Regions from separate parts of the Homo sapiens genome. Here regions 1, 2, 3, 4, 5 and 6 are each linked to region 7. Evidence: promoter capture Hi-C in human tissues and cell types (Jung and others, 2019). All regions are on one chromosome and are shown on one strand. The core of a region is centred on a gene start or on the middle of the fragment in contact, and the rest is flanking DNA. Distances in the headings are between cores, read along the strand shown.

What was found. The method cuts DNA at HindIII sites, captures the fragments that hold promoters and counts their contacts. A contact is called where the count stands out against the background at its distance.
Region 1: a contact is called between a fragment that was not itself captured here and the fragment with the promoter of LRTM2 in region 7, in 5 of the 25 tissues and cell types used here (adrenal gland, bladder, dorsolateral prefrontal cortex and 2 more).
Region 2: a fragment that was not itself captured here is called in contact with the fragment with the promoter of LRTM2 in region 7 in 3 of the 25 tissues and cell types used here (lymphoblastoid cells, mesenchymal stem cells and spleen).
Region 3: a contact is called between a fragment that was not itself captured here and the fragment with the promoter of LRTM2 in region 7, in 1 of the 25 tissues and cell types used here (lymphoblastoid cells).
Region 4: a contact is called between a fragment that was not itself captured here and the fragment with the promoter of LRTM2 in region 7, in 4 of the 25 tissues and cell types used here (IMR-90 fibroblasts, dorsolateral prefrontal cortex, mesenchymal stem cells and 1 more).
Region 5: a fragment that was not itself captured here is called in contact with the fragment with the promoter of LRTM2 in region 7 in 2 of the 25 tissues and cell types used here (dorsolateral prefrontal cortex and spleen).
Region 6: a contact is called between a fragment that was not itself captured here and the fragment with the promoter of LRTM2 in region 7, in 1 of the 25 tissues and cell types used here (spleen).

Annotation. Positions count from the first base shown.
Region 1 is chr12:2,038,450-2,042,370 of GRCh38, forward strand. It overlaps a transcript of CACNA1C not described here. Among named protein-coding and RNA genes, the nearest start is that of CACNA1C-IT2, 7.9 kb to the right of the region's middle. The HindIII fragment of the contact is 5,912 bases long and covers 1-3,921 here.
Region 2 is chr12:1,670,236-1,673,958 of GRCh38, forward strand. No RefSeq gene overlaps it. Among named protein-coding and RNA genes, the nearest start is that of MIR3649, 12 kb to the left of the region's middle. The HindIII fragment of the contact is 4,477 bases long and covers 1-3,723 here.
Region 3 is chr12:2,017,596-2,021,583 of GRCh38, forward strand. CACNA1C-IT1 (CACNA1C intronic transcript 1) reads left to right here. Exons shown (of 3, transcript XR_001749433.2): 1 at 1-697; 2 at 2,331-3,411. It also overlaps a transcript of CACNA1C not described here. Among named protein-coding and RNA genes, the nearest start is that of CACNA1C-IT1, 2.9 kb to the left of the region's middle. The HindIII fragment of the contact is 4,814 bases long and covers 1-3,988 here.
Region 4 is chr12:1,647,094-1,650,581 of GRCh38, forward strand. WNT5B (Wnt family member 5B) reads left to right here. Exons shown (of 5, transcript NM_032642.3): 5 at 1-119. Among named protein-coding and RNA genes, the nearest start is that of MIR3649, 12 kb to the right of the region's middle. RefSeq lists an enhancer at 1-500. The HindIII fragment of the contact is 6,657 bases long and covers 1-3,488 here.
Region 5 is chr12:1,988,969-1,992,440 of GRCh38, forward strand. The region is part of intron 3 of DCP1B (decapping mRNA 1B); the gene reads right to left. It also overlaps a transcript of CACNA1C not described here. Among named protein-coding and RNA genes, the nearest start is that of DCP1B, 14 kb to the right of the region's middle. The HindIII fragment of the contact is 7,991 bases long and covers 1-3,472 here.
Region 6 is chr12:1,621,736-1,625,327 of GRCh38, forward strand. It overlaps a transcript of WNT5B not described here. Among named protein-coding and RNA genes, the nearest start is that of WNT5B, 5.7 kb to the right of the region's middle. The HindIII fragment of the contact is 5,142 bases long and covers 1-3,592 here.
Region 7 is chr12:1,819,236-1,823,077 of GRCh38, forward strand. LRTM2 (leucine rich repeat transmembrane protein 2) reads left to right here and starts at 1,330. Exons shown (of 5, transcript NM_001039029.3): 1 at 1,330-1,579. All of the region lies in intron 26 of CACNA2D4 (calcium voltage-gated channel auxiliary subunit alpha2delta 4), which reads right to left. RefSeq lists an enhancer at 900-1,646. The HindIII fragment of the contact is 8,239 bases long and covers 1-3,842 here.

The DNA.
Region 1 (3,921 bases), core at 1,171-3,670, 220 kb after region 7:
GCCCTCATTATTGCTCACAGACACTGAATTCTTAGTGCTGCTTCTCAGATACTTCTTTCTTATCTTTATTATTTTGCTATGTTTGGCCACTTAAGATACAGAGTCCAGTTTTCAAAATAAGGAATGGATTTTAGGAGAGTTTTTGATAAGTCAAAGAAACATAAAAGAAGAGAATTGTTGAGATATGATTCAGGAACTATTTCTGGAGATAGCTGAACCCATGCTTAATAGGGTGCTAGTTTTGCCGGGCAGCTTTGACATGTGACAACTGTTTCTCCTTTTAATTTCCAGTTATTGTAGAAATAAATCTGGCTTACATGGTATTTCTCCTTTTTATTGCTTGACCTGATGTTTTTTTCCCCATGCAAGTCACTTCCTAGCAATTCACTCCAATATTACAGCAACACCCTGACTGTCCTGTGCCCAGGTATGTTGACAGGTGAAATCCCTTAACATAAATTTTGTCAAAAAAAAAAGCCTGTAAAAGACAGATGCTGGGAAGTGGAAATTGATAAATCCAGGTGTTACAAATGGGACACTGTTAAATGCAAGGATTGCAAATGTTATATAAGTAAACACAATGTCCATAGGTAGGAAATTGCAAAAGACAGGTGCTGTGAATATTGGTCTATGAGGCCAACAGACAGCCCTTTGCAAATAACATGGGCCTTTTAATAGACAAATAAGAGCTGAAACTTTCATGCAGAGTTCCAATCCCCTGGTAGAGGATCTTTTTGGCTAAGTAACTCACTAAACAATGATGAGAGGACAAGTGTAACAACCTCCCTTTAAACTAATCTCCCTGGGTAACCTGCCAGGGAGTTTTTCCAGGAACATTAGCTACCAGCTCAAGAGCAGCCTTTCATGTAGATACTTTTATGAGATGATTGATAGAAGTAGGGCAGGTCTCTTGGTTTCAAAATTTCTCTTTTACCAGCCTGTAATATGCCTGAAATTGCACCATTAGCAATATATTTTTTGGATTAATTCTCTACCACCAACAGGATAGATAGAGCAATCATTCATTTATTCATCAGATGTTTATTAAGCACTTACTGTGAGCCAAGTACTATTCTTGGTAAAGGAAATTCAAAGGTAAGTACAACATCGTTCTTGCCCTTGAGATGTTGAGAGTCTAGTTGGGAATACAGGAGGTAAACAAATAACTACAGCAATATAACTAGTGCTTTGATAGAGATAGCGGTAGGCTCTATGGGAACACAGAGGAAGAAGAACTTGACCCGGGACTCTTGAGCTGAGTCTTAAAGGATGAGTAGGAGTTTGCACACAGATGCAAAGGATGGAGGTCTGCAGTTTGGGTGTGGGAGGGGAGAAGGAATAAGGGATGATTTTGGACCATTGGGCCATAGGGGTGAGCATCCCTGTGCCTGAGCTGGGATTACAGTTCTTGGGTTCCTGTGGGGCATCATGTCAGTGTTGGCTGCCTATATATGTAGAGAGAGTGCTTCTGGAGATGGGGATGGGGGTAGGATTTATGCAAAGAGGAGATGGAGGATGGCAGAGACCAATGCATCTACTTGGATGCCATGGAAAGCCTGACGGCACTAGATTTTTCTTTCAAGTCATCACCTCTTCATTCAACTTGCTTTCCCATCCAGGTACTTTTCTACCCAGCTGTGGCACACCCATGACTTCAGCAGGGAGAGAGTTAAGACTTTGAGGATGGACAGCAAAACTCCATCTATTTTTTTTTTGTTCGTTTGTTTCTGTTTTTAACATTCATGATTTGGGTATTGTAGAAACTATCAAAGATGGCTTAAATGAGGTCTTTGTGTGATAGGAAATGTTCTTAGCTCTGTGCTTCCCAAACTCTTTTAACATTGAACTGCTCTCTGCAGAACATCCATCTTGGTGAGCCTTCACTAAATGCATAGAAGTGACAGCAAATAATGTAGCTGATCTAACTACCTCCCCTATAGGATTTACTTTCAGAGTTTTAAGGGAAATTTTCAAGCAGAAAATGGTTACATGGATAAAATTGTTGAGATTTAATTAGACTTTTATAAGAAATGTGAGAGAATTTTGTTATCAAAGTCTAAGCGGTAGGCTGGGTGATGTGGAGATGTCGAATACCTTGACTTTCACTTCTGAAGAACTGGTTTTAAGCATCCTCTTTTCAAATAGACAATTAATTCTTACATAAGAGATGGTGACCAACTAGTCTCTTTTTCCAAAGAGGAATAAAAGACAAAAAGAAAATGGTTGGAATTGTGGTTAATGATATTCAGGTTGGACCAAGAAAGATTATTGGGTGCTTCAATGGATTGTCAAAGATGACAGAAAATTCCATCTTTGTGGTAATAAGTACCCTGCTATGTCTATACTTTTCCTTGACAAGCTTTTTCATACTAACATTTCACTTTGTACTCAGAATCCATTCCTTGAAAGTTCCTTGGTTTATGGTTGAGGGAACTGATACTCAAAGAACATTAAGAGACCTGGCTAAAGTTACACAGCCAAGTGGTAATAGATACAAGCTTTAAACTCAGAGTTCTTTCTAATACCTGACACTTTTGTCTTCTAGGCTGTAAATGAAAATACAGCAGAATCAGATCTGTCCAATAAATCCTGATTGAAGGCCAGAACTGAAAGTATTTCTTCTGAGGCTGAGAAAAATTCCATCTCAAACATTGAAAGGGTAGAAATAGGCAGTGAAGTCCTAGTGCCTGCTCTGTTTGGCCTTTCTGGGTTAAAAACATACTTAAAATTGAGTGACTCTGTTGTGGAATAAAATCCAAACAATCTGGGTTGAAAAAGACTGCTTAGGGGTGTGTGGGTCACAGTGATGCTAAGGGTATTCTTTTTTTTTTTTTTTTTTTTTTTTGAGACGGAGTCTTGCTGTTTCGCCCAGGCCAGAGTGCAGTGGCGCTGTCTTGGCTCACTGCAAGCTCTGCCTCCCAGGTTCATGCCATTCTCCCGCCTCAGCCTCCCGAGTAGCTGGGACTACAGGCGCTTGCCACCGCGTCCGGCTAATTTTTTGTATTTTTAGTAGAGACGGGGTTTCACCATGTTCGCCAGGATGGTCTCGATCTCCTGACCTCGTGATCTGCCCGCCTCGGCCTCCCAAAGTGCTGGGATTACAGGCATGAGCCACTGCGCCCGGCCCGCTAAGGGTATTCTTGATATCCGCTGGGATAATGTGACCACAGGACACCTTGCTTGCTTTCTCCAAGAATCTCAAGAAGACTACAAACCCCAAGAAGGGAGGCATCTTGTTCAAGATCATGTTGGGGATAGAAGACAGAGTGAGAATGAGAAAGCAGAGATGTTCATTTGTTTTATGAACATTTACTTATCTGCCAAGGTCTGTAGCCCTGGCCTTCCCTGTGAAGAGCAGCAGCCTGAACCAACGTTCAGTGGCCGGGGCTGCCGAGCCAGGACCTTACGGGGCTGCAGCCTGTGCTGACCCAGGGCCTCCACAGTGCTTTGCTTGCAGATCCCCCCAAAAGAGTTGTGAAAAAGTCTGTGCCTCATCATGCGTTTTCAAGTTGACATCCCAAAAGTTTCATGATAATTTTAAATGGTTGTAAATGATGCAATTTCTGGTGCTTTATAAATCTTGACAGTTTAACATAAAATTGTTGCATTACTCTTTTAAAGTTTCCAATAAAATATAAACACTGCAGCTATTTGATACCTTCTATTATGTATTCAAAGATATATAAAAGCCCTGTTTTTAACAGTCAAAGATTTTTCATCATTTCTTTTTCTCCTTGGATACATATTTACATTCCATTTCCTTCTTAAAATTTTACCCTAATACGATATATTTTTATGCTGGAAAGTCTTTTACTGATCACGCTACCATATTACTCTGCAACAAAAAGAGGCTTATAAATTAAAATTTAAAATTTAAAAATTTTATAAACATAAGGCTTTGTGTTATACGCTTCTTTTGGA
Region 2 (3,723 bases), core at 512-3,011, 150 kb before region 7:
CACACTCTAATCTGACTCTCTTTCTGGAAGAATTTGGAGAGGTGAGTGCCAATATCATATTACTTTCTCAGGCTGAGAATTTGAGGGTGGAGTCCGGCAGGCTCCTGAGGGAAAGAGAATAAACCAGGAGGAAAGGGGAGCTCGAGCTCGGCCCTTTGGTTTTCCTTGGAGGCCTTGCTTGGGGGCCAAAGGTTCTTGGCCTGCGTCCTCCCCTCCTTCTCCCTGGGCACTCAGTAGCAGAGTGCCAGCCTCGCTTCCACTGCAGGCAACCCCACACTGCCCCTCGGGCATCCTCTCCCCCTCACTCACTCACAGCTCATTCGAAAAGGCTTTACTCACCAACTTTAAGTTAATTGCTTCAACTAAATTACACCTTTTTTTCATATGAAGTCGCAGATGTGTTCCCAGATGGTGCCTGGCCTGGTGTTCTGAGTCATGGGTCTACAGAGGCCGCCACACCTTGACACCTGGTGAAAGGTCGCCACAGTGCCCTCGCTTGTGATTAGCCCTTTGTAAGTGCAGTGCTCATTTTACCCTGTGGTTCTGAACAAGCAGGAATGACTGAATCCTGAAGTTGAAGTAGCGTAGCTTTTCCCTGAGATTCAGATGTGTTTACTTTTACACCTTTAAAAAAAAACAACTTTATCAATACAGCTTCACAGACATCACTGCTCCCGCCGTTGCTTTTTCTAGCTTTTAAGGCTGGACATATACCAAGCAAGCTCCCCATCACCACCAGGCCCTTGCCCAGGTCCACAACAGGGATCAGAAACTTCAGCCTAAGCCCCACTGCTGTGGCTCAGGTGCCATCAACAAGTCTTACCAAAGCAGGAACTTTTCTAAGCTTCTAGAATGTAGTTGTCATACCTTGACTAGCTGTCATCAACTCCCTCCCCACGGAATAGTAGCTCTGCATACCTGCTGAGATCCTGCCATAAATGGTCAGGCCACCAGCAATTACACTGTTGCCACACCCTGACTTTTTTTTTTTTTTGAGATGGAGTCTTGCTCAAGGAACTTAGTACTTCATACACCACCACCCTATCTAACATGCTATTTTGCAGTGATACTTCATATCTTTACATATCCATCATCAATGTAACATACAGTTATACAGCGAATGCATGTTTAGATTTATTTAAAGCTTTATTAGTTTCTTTGCTCACCATTGCTTTCCATTTTTTGGAGGGATCACTCTTTTTTTTTTCTTTTGTGTGCATGTGTATGTGTATGAGAAACAGATCATACATGAAAAATAAATGAAAAACTATGCACATATCGCAGTATTGGTGGATGAATACTATGATGTCTGAGATACATCTCAGAATAATCTGGGAGGGGAGAAAGTGAGTGACGGTGGAGATAAAATAAAATTGGTTGTGTACTAATAATTATTTAATAATTATTAAAGTTGTGGCTGGGTGCAGTGGTTCACACCTGTAATCCCAGTACTCTGGGAGGCTGAGGCAGGTGGACTGTTTGAGCCCAGGAGCTGGAGACCAGCCTGGGCAACATGGCAAAACCCTGTCTCTACTAAAACTACAAAAATTAGCTGAACGTGGTGGTGTGGGCCTGTAATCCCAGCTACTTGGGAGGCTGAGGTGGGAGGATTGCTTCAGCCCTGGGGGCGGAGGTTGCAGTGGGCCAAGTCTGTGCACTGCACTCCAGCCTGGGCGACAGAGCAAGACCCAGTCTAAAAAGAAAAAAAAAGAAAAATTGAATTTGTGTACTGATACTTATTTAATAATTATTAAAGCTGTGGGCCGGGTGCGGTGGTTCACGCCTGTAATCCTAGCACTTTGGGAGGCCGAGACGGACGTATCACGAGGTCAGGAGATCGAGACCATCTTGGCTAACACGGTGAAACGCCGTTTCTACTAAAAATACAAAAAATTAGCCGGGCGTGTTGGCGGGCGCCTGTAGTCCCAGCTACTCGGGAGGCTGAGGCAGGAGAATGGCGTGAACCTGGAAGGTGGAGCTTGCAGTGAGCTGAGATCGCGCCACTGCACTCCAACCTGGGGGACACAGCGAGACTCCGTCTCAAAAAAAAAAAACAAAAAAAAGCTGTGTACTAATAACTATTAAAGCTGGAGTATAGATACAGGGAGCTAGCTCTATTTTTGTATGTGTTTGACATTTTTGTATGTGTTTGTGTTTGAAATTTTGTATGTGTTTGAAATTTTACATGTTAAAGGATATAGAAAAAAGTAAAAGGTCCTGGGGCTCAATGTTCACCCTGCAGCTGACGAGTTGTGTCACTTTTTTTTTTTTTTTTGAGATGGAGTCTTGCTCTGTCACCCAGGCTGGAGTGTAATGGCGTGATCTCAGCTCACTGCAACCTCCGCCTCCCGGGTTCAAGTGATTCTCCTGCCTCAGCCTCCGGAGTAGCTGGGATTACAGGTGTGCACCACCACGCCCAGCTGATTTTTGTATTTTTAGTAGAGAAAGGGTTTCACCATGTTGTCCAGGATAGTCTCCATCTCTTGACCTCAACTGATCTGCCCGCCTTGGCCTCCCAAAGTGCTGGGATTACAGGTGTGAGCCACCGCGCCAGGCCCGAGCTGTGTCACTTTTTATAAGTCACTTCCTTCCTCTGCACCTTGGTTTCTTTCTCTCTAAAATAATGCAGTTTGACTAGACAATCATTTAAGATCCCTTCCTGCTTTGACAGGGTGAGATATCATTAATCTTTTGTGTTGTTTCTGTTATTTTGTTTTTTACTAAGATAAAATTTACATCCCATATAATTTGCCTTTTTTTTTTCTTTTTTTTTTTGAGATGGGGTCTCACTCTGTCGCCCAGGCTGGAGTGCAGTGGCACAGTCTCAGCTCACAGCAACCTCTACCTCCCAGGTTCAAGCGATTCTCCTGCCTCAGCCTCCTGAGTAGCTGGGATTACAGGCGCCTGCCCCAACGCCTGGCTAATTTTTGTATTTTTAGTAGAGACGGGGTTTCACCATGTTGGCCAAGCTGGTCTTGAACTCCTGACCTCAAGTGATTTGCCTGCCTCGGCCTCCCAAAGTGCTAGGATTACAGGCGTGAGCCACTGTGCCCAGCTGTGAAGTGGTATCTTGTTGTGATTTTGACTTTCATTTCCCTAATGACTAATGATATTGGACATTTTTCATGCCCTCTTATAGATCTTCTTTGAAGAAAAGTCTATTCAAATCTTTTGCCCATTTTTAGATTGAGTTATTTATTTATTTATTTATTTATTTTGAGACAGAGTCTCAGTCTGTCTTCCAGGCTGGAGTGCAGTGGTACAATCTCAGCTCACTGCAACCTCTGCCTCCCAGGTTCAAGTGATTCTCCTGCCTCAGCCTCCCAAGTAGCTGAGACTGCAGGTGCCTGCCAGTATGCCTGGCTAATTTTTATATTTTTGTAGAGATGGGGTTTCACCATGTTGGCCAGGCTGGTCTTGAACTCCTGACCTGTGACCCGCCCTCCTCAGCCTCCCAAAGTAATGGGATTACAGGTGTGAGCCACCACACCCAGCCGAGTTATTTATCTTTTTATTGTTGAGGTATAGGAGCTCTTTATATATTCTAGATATAAAACCCTTATTAAATACATGATTTGTAAATATTTTCTCCCATTTTGGGTTGTTTTTTCGCTTTCTTGATACATAACAGCCTTTACTTTTGGTGAAACCTAATTTATCTAATTATCCTTGGTTGCTTGCATTTTAGATATTATACCTAAGAAATGATTGCCTATTCCAATA
Region 3 (3,988 bases), core at 796-3,295, 200 kb after region 7:
AATTGCCAGATACCCACTAAACATGGTGATGTAAGCATGGTTTCAGTCAATGTATCTTTTTTCTGTTTTTTTTTTTTCTGACCTAATGCCTCTACTGATAAAAATATTTTTACTATTATTGGTTCTGTGGAACTAGTATGACTGTGATAGTGAGAGGACTGCATTCCATTTGCCTTGTGCTCCATCAGAGTCAGCTGTCGGTGTGTCCTCATGCCAGACTCATTGTAATTAGGAAGGAGACAGAAGAGGCAAGAAGAGCCCAGCGGGAGGCTCCCATTTTGGCTTGAAGGCAGTAGCACCACAAATTAGAAAAACCATTGCTTGCCTTCTACACGGACTCAACACAATACTATTGTGTCTACCAATGGGAGGTTCTGAATATTTTTTTAAAACCTTTGAAAACATAAAAACCATTCTTAGCTCAAGGGACACAGGAAAACAGGCCACAGGCCAGAGGTTGCAGACGCGTGGTCTAAACAATTAACAGAACAATAAATCAAGCCCGGATATGTCACATTTGCTGACCTCCCTGTTGTAAATACTCTCACAATGACTTGATTCGAGAATGTCCACGTAAACACTGCTGCGAGGGGAGCTAGGGAGAGTTGAGCAGTGGTTTACCGTGGTGTGCTCTTTCCACCACGCGGATAGCATAGGCTGACATGTATGATAAGCAACCTTGAGAGCAAAGGGAATGGTAAAATGTGGTAAAATAATTAGGAAGGAAGGAGTTTTTGAGTATTTATTCTCTTTGTTTCTAATATAATTTATTTAGTTGTAAGTTCACATAATTCGGTTTTTATACTGGCCATGTTGAACAATCGGCTGGCAAAATTTCTGAAAATTTAACAATATTCTCTCACAAACTAGTACAAGCTGGCTCCAGTACACCACGGCTGGAGAGGGGAAGCTAGAATGTTGAGAGGCAGTCAGGATGAAAGCAACAGAGCAAGGAAAGCTGAAGTTTATGGCTGTGGACGAGCGCTTCCTCCATCAGCTGAGATGGAGCCATGCGTGGGCGTTGCACAGGGCAGCAGCCAATGATGGGACGGAGCTCATTCAGGCCCTCTGTCTTAATAAGCACAACTCAACTAATTTGGGAAGAAAACTCAGTTCAGTTGGCCAGTACCTGGCAGGGACAGGTAGCTTGACTTAATATATAGTAAATCTAATTATAAAAATATAGTACTGTGCTCAAAATTTACATGTGAGTAGAATGATCGTGATGAAACAGAAGACAGAACTTTTCCCTTACGATAACATTGGATTTTCTTTCCTAACCTAGCTCTCCTACAAACATGCAAATAAACTGAACCAGCTAAAGAAGTGGTCCCAAGGTTTTAATAAAAAAAACATTTAACCCTTCCCTAAATATTATCTAATGAGGGAGCAAAATGTGTCACTCTCCCTTAACAGATGGGATTCTCATGGCTGCTGTTAAAGGGGAAAAAGGAGAAACCAAACTGGGTGACTCTCTGAGTTACATCTTTGGCTCTGAACTCGGTGAGTCTATGGTTTGATAGGTTGGCAGGGCAAAGGGAAAAACAGAGTTGGAGCTGACTGAGGATTAGAAATGGAATCTGGGGCTGGGTACAGTGGCTCACACCTGTAATCCTGACCCTTTGGGAGGTTGAGGTGGGAGGATCATTTGAGCCCAGAAGTTCAAGACCAGCCTGGGCAACATAGTGAGATCCCATCACTACAAAAAATTTTTAAAAAGTAGCTGGGTGTTGTGGCACGTGCCTGTAGTCCCAGCCACTCAGGAGGCTGAGGCAGATCACTTGAGCCCAGGAGTGCAAGGCTGCAGTGAGCAATGATTACGCCACTGCACTCTAGCCTAGGCCACAAAGCAAGACCCTGTATCTAAAATAAACATAACAAAGAAAGAAAAGAAAGGGAGGGAGGGAGGGAGGGAGGAAGGAAGGAAGGAAGGAAAAGAAAGGAAGGAAGGAAAGAAGGAAGGAAGGAAGGAAAGAAAAGAAAGAGAGAGAGAAAGAAAGAGAAGGAAAGAAAGAAGAAAGAAAAAGAAAGAAAGAAAAAGAAAATCTAGATGGCTTCTAATGTAACATGGTATTTTTGTGAGAGGATACTGTTAACTATAGCAATCATTTGATTTGCTCACAGATTGATTTAGTTTTTAGTGTCCATAATATGTTAAGTATTTTTAAATATGAAATATGTACCTACATGTATTTAATATTTACCACTTAATTGAATCCTGAAGATATCAGTGGTAGATGGTTTATGTTTCTGTTTATTTCTCATGTTTTTAAACTTTCTGCAGGGAGGAACCATTTGTTAAATTTCTTTTTATGTTTCTTACTATGCAGCATTGCACCATGAATATGGAGAGTGAGCTTTAAAATAGTATGAAAGACAAATGTTTAAAGGTATACATTTCTTTCAGAGAACTTTTTCTCTCTCTTTCTCTCTCTGACAGTGTGTGTGTATCTCCTGTGTCTCTCTTTCCCTCTCTCACATGCACACATAAGTGCACACACACACTTCTCTTGGAAACTGAAGGAGGCAAGAATATGATGCCATTAACAAATGCTCTTTGGTGGACAGCAATAATAACAACTGCTAACTTTCACTGAGGACTACTTATGTGCCAGATACCATGTGAAGCGCTTTGCTTGTATTAGATCATCGAAACCTCAGAAAAACTCTATAAAGTGGGTGCTAATATTTTCTAGATTTTTCAGATACAATACTGAGGATCAGGGAGATTGAATAAGTTGTCCAGTGTCACCCCTGGTAGCTGAGAGAGCTGGTTTGGATGCCTAGGGCTGTTTGTCTCCAAACCTGTGCCTTGCACCCTTAGCTCTGGTTCCTCCCCTCTCATGTCATGTAATCAGCACAAATTTCCTGAAGTAAGGCTGCATGCATATAACAAGAATAAAGGAATAAAAATAGAGGATGCCGTGGAATGGGAGAAAGTGGACTACTTACGGCAGCAGAGGAGACAGTAGGAAAGGAGAACTCTAGATGCTGTAAAGCTTCCTGGGACTATAAGTACACTTGGCTACAACAAAATGGTTGAGCAGGAAAGAAGGGAAGACAGAAGGGCTGATTTGGTGGAGGGCCATGGGAGGAATAAAATTAGACATCATAGCTACAGAATAGAAGCACTGAAATTGCACCAAATCCATAGACTCTCAGGAGTGGAGGAGATTTGAACGCCATCTGCCTAATACATAAATTTGCTCTGCATCTTGACAAGGTGGTGGTTCAGCCTCCTTGAATGCCCTTGGCCATGAAGAACTCATTAGCTCCTCTCAACAGATGGTGAATTAGAAAGTTCTTCCCTGTATGGAACCCATATTTGCCTACCAGTAACTTCTGCTCAGTGGCCAGGAACTGACTTCTTGGGGCCATACATGAAAAGTCTTTCATAGAATAGTTTCCAGGGTAAGTAGGAAAATATCTACACGTCAACTATTTTTCCCTAATGGTAAAATTATTTCTGGATACTGCGTTCACAAATGCTTCCTAATCACTAATTATCACTCAGTACATTTCTTAATCAACTGCCTTTTTGCTAGGTAATAATAATAGTTGATAATAACCAACTGCAAATAGCTTTGCATAGATCATTTTTTATGTTGTCATTTTTATCTTACAGTTGAGGAAGCTGAGGCTCAGAGAGCTTAAATAACTTGCTCAGGGTCACCTACACTATAGGCAGAGCAGTCAGAATTTGCTACAGGTAATTTAAACACAGAGATAGAGCACTATAGTCAATTTGGTGCTGCTATACCAGAAACCCGAGACTGGGTAATTTATAAAGACACTCATTTTTGCCGGGCACTATGGCTCACACCTGTAATCCCAGCACTTTGGGGGGCTGAGGTGGGTGGATCACCTGAGGTCAGGAGTTTGAGACCAGCCTGGCCAACATGGTGAAACCCCGTCTCTACTAAAAATACTAAAAATAAGCAGGGCGTAGTGGTAGGCACCTGTAATTCCAGCTACTCAGGAGGCTGAG
Region 4 (3,488 bases), core at 362-2,861, 170 kb before region 7:
CCGAGGGAGGCCTCACAAACCACAGGACGCTGCAACGGGTCAGGCTGGCGGGCCCGGCGTGCTCATCATCTCTGCCCCAGGTGTACGGTTTCTCTCTGACATTAAATGCCCTTCATGGAGGTTTTGCTCCCTTTCCTTATTTGGACCCACGCTGATCTTTCATGAGTCTCCTTTTATTTTTTATTTGGCCTTTAGAACTCTGCTCTGCAGTGTGGATGAGGGTAAGGAAATTGAGACTCCTTAGACTGTATAGTCTGGTGATCAGGGAGAGGAACAGATGAATGTTTTGAGAATTAAATAAGGTGATGCATTTAGGCATTCACCCCAAGAGCTAGCACAGTTAAACACTCAGGAAGTGGTAGCCATTAATATTACTGCTATACACAAGGGAGTTCAGAAATTTAAATTGAAACCTCACATTTACCTGCCTCTTTCCCTTCCCCTATTTGATAGCCTACCAAGCGAACCCTGGCTTGTTCCCTGGGTCCCTGTTAAAGCACGGGTAATGGGGATGCCCTTTGCCGTCTCCTCTGTGTTGCTGTCTGCAATTTTGGACTCCAGTATCTGGGGCCAGGAGGGTAAGGCTGAGCTTGAGGATCCAGGAAGGGAGATGTTATTATCCTAAAAAGGGAGGAAGGAGTGATTGAGGGAGACATGGAGCCAGGCTGCTGTAGAGTGACCAGCCTGCAGGTGAGCCGGTAACTACAGAAAGACATCAGTTTTATTCTAGAAAACTTTATTTCTGGAGAAATAATTAATGTGTTAATTTGGGTTATAATGAGCAAATGATATTGCAAAACTGCTTAAAAGAGATTCTGCCTGAGGGCATTTATGCCATGCATACTACCTGTCTCTTTAGTACCTGAGGGAGAATGTTCTGACCCAACCAAGAACCTCAGACCTAGAGTTATTTCACCTGTAGCTAACTCACACTGTTACCCAGATTCCTTTGGTTGATACTTTCAAGGTGACATTTCATTTTCATGAAAGAAAATGATTGAAGTTATGGCCGGGCAGGGTGGCTCATGCCTGTAATCCCAGCACTTTGGGAGGCTGAGGTGGGTGGATCGCTGGAGGTCAGGAGTTCAAGACCAGCCTTGCCTACATGGCGAAACCCCATCTCTACTAAAAATACAAAAATTAGCTAGGCATGGTGGTGCATACTTGTAATCCCAGCTACTTGGGGGCTGAGGCAGGAGAATTGTTTGAACCTGAGAGACAGAAGTTGCAGTGAGCCAAGATCATGCCACTGCACTCCAGCCTGGGCAACATAGTGAGACCCTGTCTCGAAAGAAAAAAAAATGATTGAAGTGAATTGGTCTACAAAAGATGAAAACCATGTCCTCGTCTTCATTCATTGACATTTAACCATCTTAACCACCTTTAACCATAACTATCCAGATGCACAGATCAACCATGATAATAGGGTTTTGAAACACTGGCTAACATCACTGTTCTTCCCCACATCAGTTCTAGAGGTTTGGGGAATTACTTTGTATCAGGTGCTCAAACTGTTTAAGAGCTGAAATCTAACCTGTTCTTAGAAGCCCCCAGAAATGAGCTGAGAATGATTGTCCACAATCCCCAGAAGTCACTTCCGTGTTCATGGAGGGAGATGGATAATCCTTATCAGAGTAAGGTTTTCCTGCAGAGTCATGGCAAGTGGTAGAGTGAATCAGTTTTCTTTCTGATGTGGGAGCAAGTTGTGTTCAAACACCAGCGTGGTTGTTGCATCCACTGACCTATTTTTCTAAGTAGGTTGGCATACGGGTATAGTTACTTGTTACTTGCTTGTTGAATCCTGGTGGATTGGAATCCTGTCTGTGAAGTGACCAGTAACGCTGTAGGAATGTGGCTGGAGAATGTGGAAACCAACCTGAGAAAAGCAAGTGAGCTTCTGCTCAGAATCACAGAATGTTGGAGCAGGAAGGGAACATGGCAATCACAGCTTAAGCTTCTGGGGCTCCAGATAAGAACCTCCAGATCCTGAGCAGGTCCCACACCTTAGTGTGCTTGTAAAAATGCAGAGTGCTGGGTCCCCAGCACCAGGAATTCATATTCAGCTGGTCTGGGGCAGAGCCTGGGACCTGAAGGGATCCGATGCTGTTAGCTCAAAGACCACACTGGACTTGCGGTTACGGAGAGCTAAGACCTGCCGGGAGGCAGGAAGCCTGGTCCTGATTCCCAGCCCAGTGCTCTCTGCAGCCCCTGGCAGGGTTCCCTAGTACCTGAAATGTGTTATAATCAACATGTAGTCTCACCAGATCATTACATTGGTGTAATGCCTCGACCAAGCAGTCCCAGCCATCCCAGGGAACCTTGCTGATGCGTTGGAAAGAGCTTTCTGGTACAGGGCAGAACTGATTTGCCCTGGGATGTTCCCTCCCTCCTCTGCCTACGATGGGTAGAGACCTACTGATCTATTTCCTGAATGTCTATCATAAGGCGATATGTTCTTAGCTATTTGTCTTTGCCTTATCTTCAAAAATTAAGAGAAAGGTATGCCTGACTGCCTCCATTTAATAAGAAGACAGATGGACAGCTAGAGGATGGGAGGATAGGAAGGCAGTCACAGGTATGGTTGAGGTTAGGGCAGGCTTCCATTCATCCAAGCATCATGGACAAATTCTCCAGAACTTGGATTCAAAGTCCTTACTTGGAGAGCCCATTTTGTTCTCTTCCACTCTCCATCCTTTGAGGTGAGAAACAAAACTTGCTCTTTGTATTGAAACCTCAAATTGGCTATTGCCTTGGAAATTCTGCCCTGCTTCCTCTCTTTAATCATTAGTATCGTATTTAAGCTCCGTCATCCCCTGCAGTTTTAGGAACTAGCAAGATGTCCTCCATGAGATAGAGATCTTACAGATGCAGTAGCTTATCAGACAAGCCTATTCCTTGGCAGAGAGCCACACCACCCCGAGAGTGTGGAAAATAGTGTTTCCATCTGAAACACTCTGCTCCATTGCCAGACACCACTGACACTGGGCAGGTGGATTTTGGGAGAACCTCTGTGTGTGTGTGTGTGTGTGTGTGTGTGTGTGTGTGTGTGTCTCTCTATGTGTGTGTCTGGAAATGAGTATTTTTCATTAATTTGGGGGTGGAGGTGGAGAGGCACCAGAGGCATGGAGTATGTAAAAAATTAAAAACAACTCAACACTTCTGGCTGAGACGTTGCAGAGCCTGGGTTGTCTATCTTTATTGGAAATGTTTGTCCTCTGCCTGGCTGGTGATGACAGGCTTCATATCTCTAGAAGGAATGTTGGGGAGCTGAGAAGGGCTGTGAGCCATGGTTGCTAAGTGTTACTGTTAGTTCTTTATTATGTAAGAATCTCTGCATTGTGTTTATACTAAAACAGTAAGTAAAGGGTGGGTGCTTTAATTCTGGTTTTACATAAGAAGTATGGGAGCTTGCCCATTTTTCTCTGAAGTAAGAAGATTTGGGCCCAGCAGTGAGGATCAGACGTCAGGCAGTGTGGAAGACTGAAGCC
Region 5 (3,472 bases), core at 678-3,177, 170 kb after region 7:
TCTGATTTGATCTAAACTTCAGGTTTACATCTGCAATAAAATCCAGCATCTAAAAAGAATTTCATTGCAATCCTATAACTGTGGATTATATCCTATATTCAACTTGTTGGCCTAGCTCTGAAATATCCCTGTCAGCTGGGCATGGTGGCTCCCGCCTGTAATGCCAACTACTCAGGAGGCTGAGGTGGGAAGATCACTTGAGGCCAGGAATTTGAAACCAGCCTGGGAAACACAGCAAGATCCTGTCTCTAAAAAGGTTGTTTTAAATTATCTGGATATGGCGGTTTAGCCCAGGAGTTCAAGGTTGCAATGAGGCTATGACCAATGCCATGGCACTCCAGCCTGGGTGACAGAGCAAGAACTTGTCTCTAAAGAGCAGAGCAGGAGCAGGAGCAGGAGCAGGAGCAGAGCAAAGAGAAAAAGGAAAGAGGAAAGAAAAGGGAAAGGGAAAGGGAAAGGAAAGGGGCTGGGCGTGGTGGCTCACGCCTATAATCCCAGCCCTTTGGGAGGCCAAGGTGGGTGATCACTTGAAGTCAGGAGTTTGAGACCATCCTGGCCAACACGGTGAAACCCTGTCTCTACTAAAAACACAAAAATCAGCCAGGCATGGTGCCATACACCTATAATCCCAGCTACTCAGAGGCTGAGGCAGGAGAATTGCTTGAACTTGGGAGGTGGAGGCTGCAATAAGCCGAGATTGTGCCACTGCACTCCAGCCTGGACAAATAGAGCAAGACTCCGTCTCAATTGAAAAAGCAAGAAAAGAAAGGAATCCCCATGTCATTGCTGTCTATAACTTAAGTATTATATTTGGGAAAATATATTTCCATATGCTAATATCTTATTTAGTTGCGAAATGAAAAACACAGTAAGTGATTACTATATGGGAATATTACAAAAGAAGTGGTCTAATTCAGCTTTTTGTTAAATTAGTTTTTAATCTGGTAAAAACTAATCTCTCTAATAACTGATATATGCTTGAATCTCAAGGCTAAAAAAACTTGCTTTTTAAACCTTGGAGCGTACTCTAAAATAACTAAGTGTTTGTAAATGATAAACTTGGCTCAAATGCATTATTTACTGCTAGTACTTCACTGCTTGGGCCTTGGGTCTCGAAGTTAAGGTTTCTTGGTTCAAGTGGTGTTTCCATCTCAAAATAGTCATGGACCACAGCGTATCACTTAATCCCTTTAACCTTAGTATTCTCATTTATAAAACAGGAATAACAGTATTTTCAAGAAAAAGTTATGGGATAACCCATATAAAACCTGAACATAGTGTTTGGCAGACAGTAAATGTTTGTTGAATAAATGAATGAATGAAATGTTTGCCCTAACTTTAACAGCTATCTTACTTACTTTTAAAGTTCATACAGGTCAAACCCCATTTTAACAATGTTTAAACCCTTTAAACAATGTATAAACCCTTTTCTGTAATAAAGTAATCTATTTTGTGTTTGAATGAAGTTACTCTATTTATCAAGCATCTTTTTTTGGCTGATTAAATGAAGAGAGTTTGGGATTTTCATTTCTTTATTTTGCTCTTCTACATTCATCCAATTCAAGAAAGGGATTTTTTTTTTCTCTCCTAATGAATCTAAAAAACCTCACCACAAACCTCTATCAATTCTACCTTTGTCTATTTGAAATGCCCAAATATGGCCTATGACATACATAAGCCAATGTGAAATGCAAAGACCAGACAGAGAGATTCTTGACTATACAGAATATCTTGAGGAAATAGTCTTACAAAAACAATCCTGAGTAAAGCTGAGTTCCTTGCCCAAAGAAAGGCCAACCAATCTATATGCCACCAAAGAACATGTAAACCATACATAATTATTATATAACATATTTGAATTCTATTAAAACGTTTAAGAGGTATCTGACACTCTGACAGCACCTGTGGTAAACCCTTCTGTGTACCTTTGATGCCCGGGATTGAAAAGGCTTTTGCAAACAACATAAAACCAAATGACTCTGGGTGCAAAGGCAATCAGTATCAGATAGAAAGGACAAAAAAAAAAAAAAGGCAAAATGAATCCAGAAAAGTAAATAGATCCATTCCCTTTCACTCTTTGTTGTTCAACTGATTCTATTTCTTTTGTATGGAAATTCATTAGAAACATTTTAATATGCATCCCAAAGGCTACCTTTAATTTGCATCCATGTTTAATAGTAGAGCAGTACAGGTGGTGTGGAAAAAGCAACGGAAGTGAAATCAGAATCTGTGGGTTTTTACACAGTCTGCCTCCTCACTGGAGTCTCAGTTTCCTCATCTGCAAAATGGCAATGAAAATGTCTACTCCACAAAATTGTGATTATTAAACATGGTAAAATAAATGAAAATCATTATAAAATACGGAAACATAAAATAAAATATGAAAAACAAATTAAAATAGAACAGTGCCATTCAATAGAAATATGAGGGGAACCACGAACGTGAGCCACATCTGTTATTTTAAATTAAAAAATACAAAGAAGCAAGTGAAATTAATAATATATTTTATTTTGCCCAATTTATCCAAAATATTGTCATTTCAACATGTTAATATAAAATAATTAATAATTGAGGTTTTTTCCTTTTTTTTTTGCACTGTCTGACAGTTGGTGCCTGTTGGACACTCACAGTGCAGCTCCGTTTAGACTAGCCACACTTCAGGTACTAAACGGCCACAGTAGTTAGTGACTATCATAGTGGACAGCACACGCTTAGAACCAAGGTGTATGTTTATTAGATCTAAATAGTATTTTCTATCAGATAAACCCTGTGGGACTTAAGAAGGTTATTTTTTAAATTGATGCATTAAAGAGAGTTTGTGTTTTTATATTTTTGGTATAGTAGTTAATATGTGATCTATAATAAGAATTTAAAATAAAATATTACCTATAACTGATCAGACCATGTATTTATCCAAAATAAAAGCAACCAAAAGTGATGATTACAGGTAACTTTGTAGTTATTTTATTAGGACTTAAATTATATATTAATTTGACATAAAATCTAATAATCTCAAAAAAAACCCTGACATAACTATAAGCACACAAAACAATTCAAACTATAAACAATTCAAACTGGCATTTCTGTAGAGAAGGAAAGGGTCCTGGAGTTGGAATTCCAAGTCTTTAGTAATAAACTACAATTGATAAAGTGTACCTTTCGGCAAAGAAACATGAGGAGAAAACACAATATTTTTCTATATTGCAAAACTTTTCATTTCACAGGACCTGCCATTAGTAAGTCATATTATAGTTTCAATAGCTTTATTTTTTTCTCTCATAAAAATTTATTCTCTAAATAATAGGATAACCACCTATTATGACAATTATATACAGCATCATTTTAATGCATCTTAATGATGCATTGGGGTTAAAATGTCAAATATTATTTACATTATACTCATTAAAATTACACTGAATAGTATATGGTAGGCAAATTCATGTATCTTGAGTTCAAAGAGTAGGATGAAAAA
Region 6 (3,592 bases), core at 1,041-3,540, 200 kb before region 7:
GGCCTCACTATGTCGGCCAGGCTGGTCTCAAACTCCTGGCCTCGAGTGATCCTCCCATCCCGGCCTCCCAAAGTGCTGGGATTACAGATGTGAGCCACCATGCCTGGCCCCATATTAGATTTTGGAGGGACTACATAAATTTCACGAACAAGCAATTCTGAAAACAGTGGAAATTATTGAAGTCCTCCTTCATTGCACTATCTCTCCTCTTCTTCGAAAAGCACCTTGAAATTTTCTCTTTGACCAAACCACATCTTCATGTGAAATCCTTTCTGCTGTTTTCCTCCTGTTAAAAGCCCTCATATTCTTCAAGGCCCTACTCAAATCCCACATCCTGAGTACAGCTGCTCCCTTAGGCTCTTCTGACACTTCTTTTTTTTTTTTTTTTTTTTTGAGACGGAGTCTCGCTCTGTCGCCCAGGCTGGAGTGCAGTGGCGTGATCTCGGCTCACTGCAAGCTCCGCTTCCCGGGTTCACGCCATTCTCCTGCTTCAGCCTCCTGAGTCGCTGGGACTACAGGCGCCCGCCACCACGCCCGGCTAATTTTTTGTATTTTTAGTAGATGACACTTCTTATAGTGTACTTTTCTGGGCAGGTTTTCTGTTTTCCCCAGCTAGACCAATGCACCTTGGGGCACTCCCCAAGGTCTTACACATTTTTACATTATCTTATTAAGCAGTGCCAGCCTTTACTCTTAGAAGCTGAATGTTACTTATGTCTTTGAGGAAAAGACAGAGAGTTATGTCTGGGACCAGGAATCTCCAAAATCTCAATTAGCAGTGGATTCTCAGATAAGGGGAGGTACAGTCAAGCAGCTTCCTCACAGCAAATGGACCAAGTTGTATGGAAGTCGAAGGGACTCTCCTTGTCTTCATGAGAGGCTGGCCTTCGTGGCCTGCTTCCTCTTTCCCTGAGAGCCAGAGGAGGGCTTTTCTTTTCTTTCAGTCAACAAATATTTTTCTAGCAACTCCCACATACCCCTGTGTACTATCCTATCCACTGGGGAGAAAATGGTAAATAAGACCGTTTCCAGAGCATATGAGGGACAGAAACAAAAGCACAACAGATGAGCATGCCACACTATTCCATGTCACATTAAATGCTGTGGCTAAAACATGTGAGAAGCTAGAAATAGAATGATGCTGCTGGGGGCCTTCTTTGGCAGAGATGGTTAGAGAAGGCCTCTTGGAAGGTGTGGCCTCAATGACAAAGGAGCTTGCTCTGCACAGAGAGAGGAGAAACCATTCCCAGAAGTCGGCAAGGCACAGCGGGGAGAAACAGGATGGGTTTGGGTAAGGAGGTATCAGGAGTTTGGGGTTCTAAAGCACAGCATGAAATCCTAAAGAGGATGGAAAGGTTGGCGGGGCCAGATTCTGGAAGGCGTCATGTAATGGGGTGAGGAGTTATGACTCATCCTTTAGGAGATAGGAAACCTTTGAAGGGTTTTTTGTTGTTTTTTTTTTTTTTTTTTTTTTTTTTGAGACGGAGTCTCGCTCTTTAGCCCAGGCCGGACTGCAGTGGCACAGTCTCGGCTCACTACAAGCTCCGTCTCCCAGGTTCACACCATTCTCCTGCCTCAGCCTCCCGAGTAGCTGGGACTACAGGCGCCCACCACCACACCCAGCTAATTTTTTGTATTTTTAGTAGAGATGAGGTTTCACCGTGTTAGCCAGGATGGTCTCCATCTCCTGACCTCGTGATCCGCCCGCCTCGGCCTCCCAAAGTGCTGGGATTACAGGCTTGAGCCACCGCGCCCGGCCTCTTTGAAGGGTTTTAAGCAAAGAAGTCACATGGTCAAATCTAAGCTTTGAACAGAGCTCCTCGATCGCTATATCTACTGAAAGGCAAGACAGTTTTGTGCTATCGAAGTAAGAGCCTTTCTTGCTGAGGACATAGTTTCTTGGTGAGTTTCACTGTTAAGGCCAATCTAAAATGTCCCTCCACGTTCTCTCCAAACCTTATGTTTCTTCACGTGCACTCTGTACCTCACCTCTGCATCTTCCATGAGCCCCTCACACCAAACCAGGATCCACCCTTCCAGACCCATAGCTCTTGACCTGGTTTGTCTTTTCCATCCCAAAGTAAAACTAAGTACCAACTCTTTAAAACTATTATGTTTTAATTCCTCCAGCTTTAAGCAGCCTGGCCTGTTCTCAACCCACATATCATTTTGGCTAGGGGAGAAGTCTAGTTCTTTCCGCCCACAAGGCTGTGTGTGTATCTAAGTGTGTGTATTAATACTAGTAACTTTGCATGTTTTGTAAACCTTGCTTTTTGTGATATCTCCTGCATATCAGAATGTTGTTTTCTGACTTTCACACTATTCGCAGCCGTAGTAACAGGGCAATGGTGCAACGAAGAAAAGAAAGAGGCTGGGTACCGCGGCTCACGCCTGTAATCCCAGCACTTTGGGAGGCCGAGGCAGGTGGATCACCTGAGGTCAGGAGTTCAAGACCAGCCTGGCCAACATGATGAAACCCATCTCTACTAAAAATGCAAAAATTAGCCGGTCGTGGTGGCAGGCACCTGTAATCCCAGCTACTCGGGAGGCTGAGGCACAAGCATCACTTGAATCGGGAGGCGGAGGTTGCAGTGAGCTGAGATCATGCCACTTGCCTAGGCAACAAAGTGAGACTCTGTCTCAAAAAAAAAAAAAAAAAAAAAAAAGAGAAAGCAGAGAAGGTGTTATGCTCTAGTGACAGGGAGGACCTGTATTTGGGGAAGAGTAGAAAGATCTGGATTCCAAGCCAGGGTCAACCATTCAATTGCTGTATGAACAAGTACTTAATTTTAGTTTCCCTGTTTTCAAAGTGAGAATAATAATGGCATATGCCACAAATGTTGGCAGAGATTAAATGAGAAAAATAGATGTGAAACATTTAGTGCAGTGCACTAAGAGGTGCTCAATAAATGTTGATTAATACTAGCTATTGTCACTGGTTATCAATCAAAAGACATTTGTTACTGCTGAGTAAAACCATACTGGGCGCAAAGGGGCTCGCAGAGAAAGTAGAAAAGGTAAGTTTGAACCTTTAGGAAGCATTTGATCTACTAGAGAAGTAAGAAGTATATACTTCACCTGAGAAACAGCCCAAGGCAGCATAAGTGGGGTAGGGAGGTGCAGACCAGATACATGGATTCATAAGGGCCGAAGAGGTTGAGACCTCTTCGGTCTCAACCCATGAGAATGAGATTCTCATGGGGTGGGGTTAATCAAGCACAGTTTTATGGAGGGAGTGAATCTTGAGCCTGGATGTGAAAGTAGTTTAATATCTGGATTGCTGCAGAGCAGAGGAGAATGCTTCCTTGGGAAGAGGATCAGAATGAGGTCTTGGGGGAAAAGTGGGGTTTGTTCTAGGAGTAGAAGGACATTGGAAAAGGAGACTTCATGTTGGGAAATTCAGGAAAACAATGAGAGGTAAGATGAGGCCACATTGGAAATAAAGAACTGGGAACCACTATACGTTTTCAAATAGGGGAATATTATGATGTAAAATTAGTATTTTAGGGAAAACTGGTATTGTGTCTATGTGCACTTGTGAGTGAGACCACGAAGAACTACTCTGGTGTTCAGATGCCAGAAGGGTGAGTAC
Region 7 (3,842 bases), core at 80-2,579:
AGTATGTTTATGGGGAGGTGGGAGCCTCTTTTGCTTGACAGTGGGATGTGTGGGAGGCACCAGCATGAGAGGTCAGAGGCGGGACTCCCCAGAGGTAAAAGACACTGCAGCTCAAGCCTTGTGCTGCCCGGGGACCCGGCAGAACGGACAGAAGGGAGTGAGCAGGAGCATCCTTCTAGGGGCATCCTGAGTCCAGGGGGTTCTTCTACACCCACCCCAGTCCTGGCTGTGAACCCCTCCAGCAAAGCAGGCAAAATGGAAGAGGGACATAGGACACGGTGATATATCGCTAGCACGGTGCTTCATCTGTCTACAGGCAGTGGACGCAAAGGAAGGGGGATTTAGGGTTCGTGCTCCAGGCTGGTGGGGCCCTGGCTCCCCTCTAGCTTGGTCCCTGACTCACTTGGCCTTCAGATCAGCCACTTCCCATCTCTTAGGATATCAATTTTTCTGACTTGCTTTGTCCTGATTGGTTAAGAAAGAGGCCTCCAAGTTCTTGAATGACAGTCTCTTCCCTTCGCATGCCTGACCCATCACAGATAAGAGCAAGGAGCCCTGAGAAGCCAAGCTCGTCCCTGGCACTGAGAACGGTCTGCAGGCTGCTGCTGCAGGCTGCCCTGTGCCCAAACTCCCAGCCTGCCAACTCTGGCATTCTGCTTCCCTAAGTAGTCCTGGCGTCGGGTGGTCAGACCCTGAGGCTCAGTGACCTCTGCATGACCATGTGATCCCTGGCTTTGTGGGGGCTCAGGGCCCTTTCCTGTAGGGTCATCTGGCACATGGACATGCCTGTGTACCCTTCTTTCGTATGACCGAGAGAAGGGTTCGGTTTTTCCTTCTCTCAGGCAGGATGGGAGACTCTGCCTCGCATGTCTCTAAAACAGGAGAAAGACCAGCTTCCCAGGGGGGCCTCCATCGGAACAGAAGTCAGCCGCTTGCTCTGTGTCTGCGCCTGTCCCTCTTTCCCCAGATGGAGGGGAAGAGAGGAGAGAGGCACAGAAGACAGGTGCAGCCGGGGGGGTGAGGGAGAGCCTGGAGGCGCAGGATGGAAGATGGAGGTGGTGGTGAAACCGCTTTCCTCCTCCCTGTGGTCGGCAGCGATTCATCCACAGGCGCCTTTTTCCACTGAAATGTGAGCGTGGCCAGGGTGAGCGCTGCCCTCGCGGCCGGCCGTGGTGCCTCTGGTGTGCGCCTGTGTGTGCTGCTGCCGCTGTCATCACAGATGCACCCCAGCTGTCACTCCCCGCTCCACTCTGGCTCGCTGCTCGCGCACACGCGTGCGCTCTCCTCCCTCGCCCCTTTCTTCCCTCTCTCCTCTCTCTCTCTCCCTCCATCCCTCTCTTTCCTTCTCAGTTTGTGACTGACCCAGCAGCCCCGTCCCCCGTCTGCCACAAGCAGTCCACCTCCTGGTGCTGTGTGCTGCGTGCCAGCCGCTGCTCCCGCTGAGTGGAGACTCTGGCACCAGTGCCCACTGCGCTCTGCCTGCCGGTGGTGTCTGGATTTCTATAGGAATCCCAGGAGGGTCTTACTGGAGGGTTGAGAGCCACCTGATTGAAGGCGTTTGCAGTCAGAGTAAAGACGGGTGAGTACCGAGTGGCTGGTAGGAAGGAATGGAGGGTTGGTGGGGACAGGGGGTGGTCGGGGCATGGGAAGTGGGCACCGGCCATCTCTGCCCTGCAGGAATAGCTGCAGTTGCTTCCTACCTGCAGGCAATTGCTGGGGCCGAAGAAGCTGCTCGGGCTCAGGCACCTGAGCATCCCAAAGGTGCACGACACTGGGAACTCTGAGCCCACAGTGCTGGGGACAAGAGCTGTGGATTCTGCTGGGAAGTGGGGAGGAGGGCAGCGCTGGCGCCAGATGACAGTCCCGGGTGGCATAGAAACCGGTCCCTGCAGCATGGGAGAAGCAGCCAAGAGCCTTGTGCTGTCGTTGTGCCCGGCTCTGCACAGACAGCCCCAAGAAACTCGGGGGTCATGGGAAGCGGTTGGGATGGCAGTCAGGTGCTGGGGACAGGGCCAGGTCAGAGGAAGGCTTGGGGTGGAGGGTGGCAGGGAGGAGGTCCTGGATGTCAGAGGCATGGGCACAGACCCAGGTCCTGGGCCTCCCTATAGCTTGCCTGCAGGTGGCTGTCCTTGGACAAGGGTGTGGAGGAACCCTCCCCCAGATGAGCATGGGCCCACTCAGCTGTGCATGAAGCCTCCCTGGTGAGGGTGAGGCTGGGAGTGGGCAGGAGAGAGAAGTATCGCAGCCCTTCCCTGCTAGCCCAAGGGCAAGACAGGAGAACCAGGCCCGCGAGAACCTGCTGGGGTGTCCCGCAGCTGTGCACCCAGCCGTCCATCTGCAAATGGGTCAGGGAGCCTTAGTGGGGGCTGGACACTGAGCTTGGGTGGGGGGTACACAGCGGGGCCAGGCCTGCCTGGCTTCTTGACCCACACAGGGGGCATGGACACCCTGAGTAGAGCGGGACAGTTGCTCTCAATCCCCCAGACCCATTTGGACAGTGCTGGAGAGAGGAGCAGCCTGACCAGGAGTCGGAAGTTCACATTCCTGCACCTCCCTGCAGGTCTGGGGCTGGGTTCCAGTTGGCGGCCCTGTCTCTCCCCCACCCCCAAGCTGTCCACATTTCTGGGGGGTGTTGGCACCCGGCTGTCAGGGCTACTTGGGCAGTGTCTCTTTGTGACTCAGATGACACCCCTGCAGCTTAGATAACTGCCTCAGGTGGGGGCGGGGAGGGAGCCGAGCACGTGGAGCTGAGGCGGGGGAAGTCCAGCTGGTAGGGAAACCCGACAGCAGCTTCCGAGCTGCCAAGAAGAGCCCAGCTTTTCCCACCCCCACCTCCCCACCGGCAGAAAGAAAGTCTCAGCACTGCCAAAAGAGGGAGACCAGGAAAGCCAGGCCCGCGGGGAGGGGTAAGGAGAGAGGCTGCTTAAGCAGCCGATCTGGTGTCTTTGGGGTTTGACAGAAGCTTGTCTGGGCCCACGAGGAGCAAACTCTGCTCCCGTTTCCCAGGCACCAGAGCCCAGGGGCCGCCTCTGGGCTGCTATGGCCTCAGTGGGCAGTGTAGGAAGGAGGAGGGGATGGCATGTATGTGATGGTTGGGGGTGTCTGGGAGTTCTGGGGGTGGGCAGAGGAGAAAGGAGCCAGCATAGAGGCTGTCTGCCCCTCTGGTCTTCCTCCTTTTTCCCCCAGCCAAGCCTCCTGTGCCCTGCCTGGGAATACCACCCTGAGCCCAGCCCCAGGGACACCACCCTGAGCCCGGCCCCAGGGCCCAGTGGACACCTTAGCCTCCTTCATGTCAGGGACCAGCTCCCATGAGGGGCCACTCAGGAGGCTTCTCTGTTCTGCTTCCCAGAGGGTCTGTTTGAGATTGAGAATATTTGACAAGGAAACGGGGGTGCAGGAGGCTGGGGGTGAGGATGGGGCATGTGTTTTAAAATGAACCAGGAGGGTATATGGCTGTTCCAAGTACAAATATAGAGATTTTTAAAACCTGGTTCCTTGCTGCCTGGGCAGTGTGTGTGATGGGGGTGATGGGCAGCTGTCCTAGAGGGCCTGGGTGCCCAGACAGGCAGCGGTAGGCGGAGCCCAGCCTAGACGGCTGTGGCAGCCTCCCCTGCGTCCTGGCCACATGGAATCTCGGGCCGTCTTTGGCCCGGGGCTCTGGCTGGCCACTCTCCGGGCTCCCTCTCAGCCTTCCTGGGGTTGGTGGAAGGGCACGGCCCCTGCAGGCCCAGGGTGTGGGCCCAGTCGTGGCTCTGCTTCTCTCTGGCCTTCTGCAGAGTGAAGGGGGCGGCAGAGTAGGCTGCAAATGCCCCCTTTACCCCTGAGTTCTGTGACTCTTCCAT